3 separate regions of the Homo sapiens genome follow, and all the other regions are linked to region 3. The links are contacts of gene promoters, found by promoter capture Hi-C in blood cells and fetal thymus (Javierre and others, 2016). All regions are on one chromosome and are shown on one strand. The core of a region is centred on a gene start or on the middle of the fragment in contact, and the rest is flanking DNA. Distances in the headings are between cores, read along the strand shown.

Region 1 (2,844 bases), core at 124-2,623, 530 kb before region 3:
CACTTATATGCCCAATAAGTAATAGCTATCAATATCCCCACCCCTACCACTGTGCTGAAATTTAGTTTCTTTTTGTCACCCCCCATTAGACTTAAGGCAGAATTCTCACCGTACTCCTCTGTAAATTTCTGGTTCCTGGCACATAGTTGGGTCTCAGTGAAACATGGTGAGTGAATGAGCAAATGCAAGGAATCTCCAGGCCATCTGGGAGCCCTCCCAGGCGGGTGAGTTCGGGAAACTCATAGTCTGTCCTCAATGGCCCACTGAAAGGTAGAGAGTTCTGGGTCCCACCTCCGCACCCCCATCTCCTGACTCACTGCTGAAAAATAAATAAATAAATAAAATAACACTTATCCGGAGCCTCCCACATGCCTTGCCAGGACTGCAAGGAGCCCAGCAGAATGATGACCGGCGTGCAAGCTGTGCCCCGGCGTGCATATGTTTCCAGATTATTGGAAACCTGGGCCAGAGAGACTAATAATTAGAAAAGCCATAGGCTCTCTTCCAGGGCTAAGATTATGGGATCATTAGCAAGTCCACAGACTCTGATTTCAGAGAATGAACAAGGAAACTGGGAAGGGCAGCAGCTCCAGCTGAGGCCGGCTGGTCATGGCACCTGGCATGGTGTGTGGGGGTGGGGGCAGGCAGGGATAGCTAGAATGACTCAGCCTTGGGGGTGGCTCAGGACACCCCCCCTGAGCAGGGGGCAGGTGGTCAGCTAGGACGCAGCCCTGGGCTCATTTGTTCTCTGCCCTCCTCCCCACCTCCCCCAGCTTGGATTGGAAGCTTGTCCCCAAATAGGCTCTGCTTTGCACGCTCTAAGAAAAGGGAGGCAGATCTGGCCACCAGCCAAGGTGAGGCAGCATCCCTGGGGGTGAGAAGATGGGGGGACTGACAGTTGCTGGGCTAGGATTCACTTCAAGGTCTCAGCCTGTCAGGGAGGGGCGTAAGTCCCAGGGGGCCAGAAAGTGGCCATAAAGAGGACAATCTAGGTCTCTGGAGAAACTACCTGTACCCAGCTTCCCTGTGTTACCTGCCTCAATGTCACTAGGCAGGAGGAACCCTCTTCCCCAGCCTTAGCACAGAGTGGACCAGCTGGCAGTTGTGTACTTGTCTGTCTCTAGAACTGGTCCAAGAGCCTCCCAGGGCCTGGCTGGCGACATACAGACTTTGAATGTTTCTGCAAGTTTTAGAGGAAGAGATGGCCCCAGAGGACAATTCCCAAGGGCAACTGCCGTGGATGGACACCACTTTGAGCTGAGACCTGGGTGGAATCTCCCCCAGCCTCTTCTGAGTTCTGCAACCTTATGCTTTCCCGGAGCCTCAGGGAAAATATCTCTTCCTTTGCAAGGTGCTGAGGGTTGGATTAACGAAACGAAATGGCACACAGGGCACCGATCCTGTCACTCAACATTAGCCCTTCTTCAGAGAAATCCCTTTTACTGCACGCATCACTCACCCTTCTCAAAGTGCTTTCTCATAGCCTTGAACTAGGTTCTCAGAACAATTTGTGGAAATAAGAAGGCAAGAATTATCCCCATGTTAGAGATGCAGAAACAGAGGCCCAGCAAAGCTAAATGATGTACCCCACGTCACCCAGTGAGCTAGGAAAGAGATGGCCAGGGCAAAAATGACGATTCCCAGGCTCCTGGCTCCCAGCCGCATGGGATCCCTCCACCCGCCAGTGGCCTGGACTTTTGGAGACCTCCACCCAACAGAACTGGCTTTGCTACCGTGAACCTTCAAGAGAAGGTCATGAAGTTTACTGAGGCCCCAACTTCTACTTTTGAACTTTCTGGGAAACACCCATCCTCAGAGGTTCAGGGACCCAAAGTATCGGATTTCAGAGGAGCCAACTCTCCCCTCCCTCTTCCCCAAAGAGGGAAACACAGCCCAAGGCAATGATTACATCAGGGTTAACCATCAGCAGCTCCACCCTCTTGTTCCAATGAAAGCTTTAGTTCTCCAGAACTAAAAGAACTTGGGGAGTCTTTCCAGGCTGCCCTGGGGCTCTCTGGGCTGGGCCTGTGCAGCAGTCTGGCCCTTCAGGATGACCGTGTGTGGGGAACATCCTCAGGGGACCCCCGCTTTAGGAACAAGGAAGCCTCTGCACCTTCCTGCTTTATCCCTCTCTGCCCATGCCAGATCCCAGCATAGATCCTGGGCTGAGGATTCCAACGCCACAGCCTCCCGAAGGCAGCTCGGAGGCCGGCAGAAAGCTGCCCTTACCAACCACGGCCCACCACCACCAAATCAAGGCAAACAGATCAATACAGTGAGCGGCTGGGAGGGCTGTGGGCAGCCACTCCTGTCTCGCTCAAAGGTGGAAACAGGAAACACGCCGGCACAGGGTCTTTGGCCCTCCCAATTCCCCTACCTCTAATCTCCTGGGTGGGGCTCCCTAACTTCTGGGGAGAAAATTTGGCCACCCTTCCCTCCTCTGCTCTGCAAAAAGGCAGAGATGACAGCAGTTACTTTCTAAAATAATGAACATTTGTATGATACTTTCCAGTATCCTCAGCTTTCACACATGGTTTCTCCCTTGTTTTTCTTATCTTTTTGGGTTTTTTTGTTTTGTTTTTTATTTATTTATTTTGAGATAGAGTTTCACTCTGGCACCCAGGCTGGAGTGCAGTGGCGAAATCTCTGCTCACCGCAACCTCCACCTCCCATGATCAAGCAATCCTCCTACCTACCCAGCTCAGCCTCCAGAGTAGTTGGGATTACAGGTAGACACCACCACATCTGGCTAATTTTTGTACTTTTTGTAAAGATGGGGATTTGCCATGTTGCCCAGGCTGGTCTCAAATTCTTCAGCTCAAGCGATCTGCCCGCCTCGGCCTC
Region 2 (2,843 bases), core at 269-2,768, 540 kb before region 3:
TGGGAAGTCAGGCCTGCATTTAAACCTGGTTTATATTCTCATGTGCCTTGTAAGCTGGGGCTCCCAGGACATATGTTCACAGGGTTGTTGTGAGGCACAAATGAAGTAACTCATATAAAACATTTAGCTCAGTCCCTGGCACAAACACACATTTAAAAAATAGTAACTGCAGCTGCCACTATTATGAATATTATTCTACTCTGTATTGGTTCTTTTCTGATTTTTTTAAGCACTTAGTGTCTGCAGAAACCCATACTCTGACCATGTGACAGGACTTACCCTGCTATTCACTGTTTCATGTGCTCAGCTCTCTCTTCTCGTCACCTATATTTTAATTTACTTGGAGGGCAGAGATTACACAGATACAGTCTCTCGTGTTCCTGCTAAATTATTTTAAAATCAGAATTCTGAGGCCAGGCTCACACCTGTAATCTCAGCATTTTGGGAGGCTGAGGCGGGCGGATCACTTGAGGTCAAAAGTTCGAGACCAGCCTGGCCAACATGGTGAAACCCCTTCTCTACTAAAAATACAAAAATTAGCTGAGCATGGTGGTAGGCACCTGTAATCCCGGCTACTAGGGAGGCTGAGGCAGGAGAATCGCTTGAATCCGGGAGGCAGAGGTTGCAGTGAGCCGAGATCATGCCACTGCAGTCCAGCCTGGGCAACGGAGCAAGACTCCGTCTCAAAAAAAAAAAAAAAAAAAAAAATTCTGGCGACATTCCCTGCACACCACACCTTCCCGTTTCTTTCCAGATCTGGTGCATCCCACTTCCTGCTTGTCCTACCTAATGACTAGCCTCAAAATGCAACTGGCTGCAAATGGACCATGAAAAACAGACAGTGCGTAATGCCTAGGAAGAGTTGACCCTCTTTTTAGAATAATCCATCAACCAGGAAGTTTGAGGGAAGGGACTGGGCAGAAAGCTGTCCTTTGCTATTGCGTCAGATGATCCCTGTTACACACTCATGATGACGGAGGCTCCGGTCTGGCATCTTCCTGAACACCTACCTGGAATCAAGGCCTCCTGGGCCCTTCTTTGATCCGGCCCAACTCACCTGTAAGATCCAGTGGCCACTTTGTCACCGTCCACCATCAGGAACCTTGATGACAGGGTCCCCTTGATCCTCCCCATGGGCATGTAGAAGCCGACGCCTGTCACAGAGCGGACACGGATGTTCTGTTGGGAAGAGCAGAAGGCCCTGTCACCTGGGTTGGGCCAGCCTCCGTGCCAGGTCCTTGCTTCTGCAGAGGAAGAGCCCCCTTGTGTATGGACCCTGCCTGCAGGCTCCTGTCTTCACTAGACGCTCTGCTTCCTACAGCCTTCCATAGGGAACCCTCTTTGGCGAGCAGGAAGAAGTCCCCAAATCTTGCTTCAGGCATGGACAAGCCCAGGGTGGTTCCTGCCTCTTCTCAAAAGGCCCCAGAAGAGAACAACAGCCCTCACTTTGACATCAGTGATTCTGCAGGCTAAGCACCCCAGGACCAGCCCAGAGCTCCCTCCTTCAGTCTCAGCAGCCTAGGGATAAAATTGAAACTGGGCATATGATTCAGTAGTTAACAGTAAAGCCAAGGTTAAAGGCTTGACTTTCAACAAAAGGAAAGGTGTTGAGATCTTGAAGTTCGCCTGAGCCCCCATTCAGGGAAGAGGCAGGGGGGAGCTGCAGGACGGGGCAGAGGTAGTCTCTGTCTCATCTCCTGTCCACTTTCCACCCCAGTGGTGCAACTTACCCGAATCCGGAAGTCAGTGAGCTGCAGGTCCTGACACATCTCCAGGAAATACTTCACTCCTGCCTCGTCCAGGATGATGTACACTGGGACCCGGCGCTTACAGGCAGCATCCACAATGTCTTGAAAGATATCACCATCAGTGAAGAGGTCCATGACCACAGCAATGACCTGGGTGGGGAAAGGCACTGGTGAGGCACACGGTGTCTACACGCCCACAGAGGCATGCCCTGCTCAGATGGTACCACCTCGCCCTGGGGTCACTGGTGGCCAAGAGTCAAAAACTCCACCTGTACCATTCCTGGAGTTCCACGTCCCCCGATCTTTGAGCATATCTGAGCCCTGGAGATGGGCCTGGGGGTGCAGGCCGTGTGCTTGTACTTCATCCTGGACAAATCCCCACCTCCCCATCCTGGGGGTCTTCCAGCAGCTCTTAAGAAACTGTATCAGGGCCAGGCAAGGTGGCTCACACCTGTAATCCTAGCACTTTGGGAGGCCAAGGCAGGTGGATCACCTGAGGTCAGGAGTTTGAGACCAGCCTGGCCAACATGGTGAAACCCTCTATTAAAAATACAAAAAATGGGCTGGGCATGGTAGCGGGCACCTGTAATCCCAGCTACTTGGGAGGCTGAGGCAGGAGAATTGCCTGAACCTGGAGGCAGAGTTTGCAGTGAGCCAAGATTGCGCCGTTGCACTCCAGCCAGGGCAACAAGAGCGAAAAAAAAAAAAAAAATTAGCCAGGCGTGGTGGCAGGCACCTGTAATGCCAGCTACTGGGGAGGCTGAGGCAGGAGAATTACTTGAACCCAGGAGATGGAGGTTGCAGTTAGCCGAGATCGTGCCATTGCACTCCAGCCTGGGTGATAGAGACTGTCTCAAATAAATAAATAAATAAAATGGAATAAAGAAGCCATATCATGGGAGATCTAGGGGCCTGAGGAAAGTTGCTCCTGACACCCTAGAAAAACAAGCAGGCACAAGGAGATGCCATCACGGAGATGCCAGGGGTGGGCTCATCTCCGTGAGCCACACATCTGCTCAAACATCACTTTCTCAGCAGGCCTGGATGCGCTGATGGCCTTGCAGCTGTGCGAAGCTCTGTGCTTCCCCAGGCACA
Region 3 (2,760 bases), core at 111-2,610:
GAGTTAGTTCAACTGTACGAAAGGGCTTCGCGCTGAAGCCCGTCTCCCTGTGCTCACCTTCCACCCGGCCTGGTCCTGCCCCATGTGACCTAAGGGCTCTGCCACCTCCAAAAAGAAGGCAGGAGGCACATCTTTGCAGCAATCCCTGCCATGTACAGCAGCTCCTGGGGCACAAGGTAGGCCAGTGGCCACAATGGCCAGATCCGAACACTGCTTGTGGCCTTGGCAAGTCACTCTGCCTCCCCGTGCCTCAGTTTCCCCCTCCACGATACGGAGGTATAACCGTTTCTGTCTCACAGGGTTGTTGTGAGAGTTGAGTGAGTTAATCCCCGCAAAAAGCTAGGGACCATGCCTAAGCACACAACAGATGCTCAGGACACGCCGGCTCCACTGTTACTGGAAGTCTGGAGGATTTGGTTTGAATCCCAGTGCCATGACTTACTTGCTGTGTGCCCTTTGGCAAGTTACTTAGCTTCTCTGGTCCTCAGTCTTCTCCGATCTAAAAGAAAGATGTCACCCTCTGTTTTGCAGTCCTGTGGGAGACCTGGCTGAGCCACGGTGTCAAAGCATTCTGCATGGAGCCTGGCCATTGGCAGAGGTTCTATAAATGCATGGTTTTTTTTTTTTTTCTTTCCTTCCATTTGGGTTTCCCGCTGGACGACCAAATACAGATGACCCCCTGAATATGCCAGGCCTTGCTCCTGACCGGCTTTATTTCCTTTAAGAAAGGTAACAAAGACACCTTTGTTAAGGTACAAAAGGAGGTGGGCCAATTGCGGGGCTGCTTCACCCTGACTGGCACCCTCAGCCTGTAGGGCCTTTCTCAGTAACTCACCAGGCATTCAGGACCTAGGCCAGAATCTGCGGAATCCGGCCCAGCCGAGGCCTGCAGACTCCTCTCCTGGGTCCAGAGGGCCTGCAAGTAAGAATTTGGTCCAAGGCTTCACCCCAGGCCAGTGCCTCTGCATGTCCACTCCCACGGGCCGCCCATTCCAATCCCTTTGGGCTGCTAGAAGTTCTTCCTTCTGTTGACCTTCATCAGTTTCCCTGGAGCTTCTGCTACTGGTTCCTTCCCTGGGGTATGGCAGAGGGAGTCGGCATCTCAGGAGTCAGAAGACAGTGAGCACCTCCCCGGACTCTGAAACTAAATGCAGCTTGAGGTTTCAGGATCCCACATGGGGAGACAGGTAGAGGCGGTGGCTGCAGAACATGGCCGATCCTGGAGTCCCGGCGAGACTGAAGAAACAACTGCTGCTCTGCTGTCCTCCCCTCTCATCATCTGACTCACTCCTTTGACTGACAACCATCCACAGGGACGCCTACACAAAGTGGTCACTCTGCAGTCGACGTATCATCCCAGCTACTGGTGGTCATCGGGGACGCAGATATGTGTGTCTCCATTTTGCAGATGAGGACATGGAGGCCTCAAGAGGTTAAGTGACTTGCTCAGCCACACACAGCTGATGGGAATGAAACAGACGGAAACGGAGACTCCCCAAGCTGACAGGCGGACTACAGATCTGGGGGTTCTGCTCCAGGCTCAACACAAGTGGCCTGGGCGAGGGAGGGCCTGGTAGACCATGACACCCAGCATCGAGGAATTCTGCTTCCCCAGCAGGCTCAGAAGGAAGAAGTCTGCTTCAGGGGCCAGGCCTGGTCAAAGACTCCATCTTCCCTGGATGGCCAGAGTCAAATCCTTGCAAATCCCGTTCACCATGGAGCAGGTGAGACAGCTTCTGCTGTGCCCACCCATGGATGAAGAAACTAGGCCAACAGAGGAGAGACAGAGCTACAAGGGGAGCAGTTCTTAGATTAGGCAGGCAGGGTTCAGGAAAGACAGGGTGCCCAGGCCACCAGAATACCCACGAGAGTCTGGGCCTCATGGAGTCAGCCCCACTCTCTGCTGGCTCAGCTCCAGGGTGGAGGCCTTGCCAAAGGCTCAGCCCAAGACCCATCCCAAGAGCCCTTTCCATGGCAACCCCACCCCTCCCCCACCTCCAGTCCCTGTGCACCACTCTCTCCCCTCCAAACCCATCCCCATCAGCTGATCCCAGCTCCCTGCAGGCTGCCTGAGGACTTTCCCACGGAGTGGCCGGCAAGTGCCTGGGAAAGTTGGTTCCCAAAGCTGGGATCTACCCCTGCTAGGACTCCACCCCTCCTGCACTGGTCACTGGTCCATTCAGGACATCAGCTCCTCATCCCCAGAGGCTCATTCCATAATGTTTTTGTTTTTGTTTTTTAGAGACGAGACCTATGTTACCCAGGCTGTATGTGAATTCCTGGACTCAAGCAATCCTCCCATCTCAGCCTCGTGAGTAGTTGGGACAAGTCTCACACCACCATACCCAGCTTAATTTAATTTGAATTTTAATAGCTGCATGCTCTAGTGGTTCCTACGTTAGACTGTGCAGTTTAGACTGAACGGAGAGGGCAGGAGGCAGGGAGTCAACCGGGTCCATCGTGCCAGCACCGCTGGAGAGATGGGGCTGCACTGAGGGAGGACCCTCATGGGGACAGTCACAGAGCTGGAGCAAGGGAGCATCCCAGGGCGCCAAGCCTGAGAGACGGCCCGTGATGAAGGGGAGGGCCAGGGGCGGGGCAGTGGTGAGCTGATGCCAAGGTCTTGGCTGAGAGAGGCTCATAGAGCATTGGTTAACTACAGGAGGGAGGGATGCAGCTCTGGGGGGCTGCCTGACACCAGGGTGCAGGGGCATTAGGCAGGTGATTGGCAGAAGGAGACCTCGGGAGGGGAGGTGGGCT

The links. The method cuts DNA at HindIII sites, captures the fragments that hold promoters and counts their contacts. A CHiCAGO score of 5 or more calls a contact.
Region 1: a contact is called between a fragment that was not itself captured here and the fragment with the promoter of MGAT3-AS1 in region 3, in 1 of 17 cell types (total CD4 T cells). The highest score is 6.4, in total CD4 T cells.
Region 2: a contact is called between a fragment that was not itself captured here and the fragment with the promoter of MGAT3-AS1 in region 3, in 2 of 17 cell types (naive CD4 T cells and total CD4 T cells). The highest score is 5.5, in naive CD4 T cells.

The regions. Positions count from the first base shown.
Region 1 is chr22:40,001,399-40,004,242 of GRCh38, reverse strand. The region is part of intron 1 of FAM83F (family with sequence similarity 83 member F); the gene reads right to left. Among named protein-coding and RNA genes, the nearest start is that of FAM83F, 7.9 kb to the right of the region's middle. The HindIII fragment of the contact is 1,169 bases long and covers 789-1,957 here.
Region 2 is chr22:40,018,223-40,021,065 of GRCh38, reverse strand. It overlaps FAM83F (family with sequence similarity 83 member F), which reads right to left. Exons shown (of 5, transcript NM_138435.4): 2 at 1,731-1,898; 3 at 1,058-1,179. Among named protein-coding and RNA genes, the nearest start is that of FAM83F, 25 kb to the right of the region's middle. The HindIII fragment of the contact is 3,847 bases long and covers 1-2,843 here.
Region 3 is chr22:39,475,422-39,478,181 of GRCh38, reverse strand. MGAT3-AS1 (MGAT3 antisense RNA 1) reads left to right here and starts at 1,360. Exons shown (of 2, transcript NR_126469.1): 1 at 1,360-1,724; 2 at 2,243-2,375. The region is part of intron 1 of MGAT3 (beta-1,4-mannosyl-glycoprotein 4-beta-N-acetylglucosaminyltransferase); the gene reads right to left. The HindIII fragment of the contact is 5,409 bases long and covers 1-2,760 here.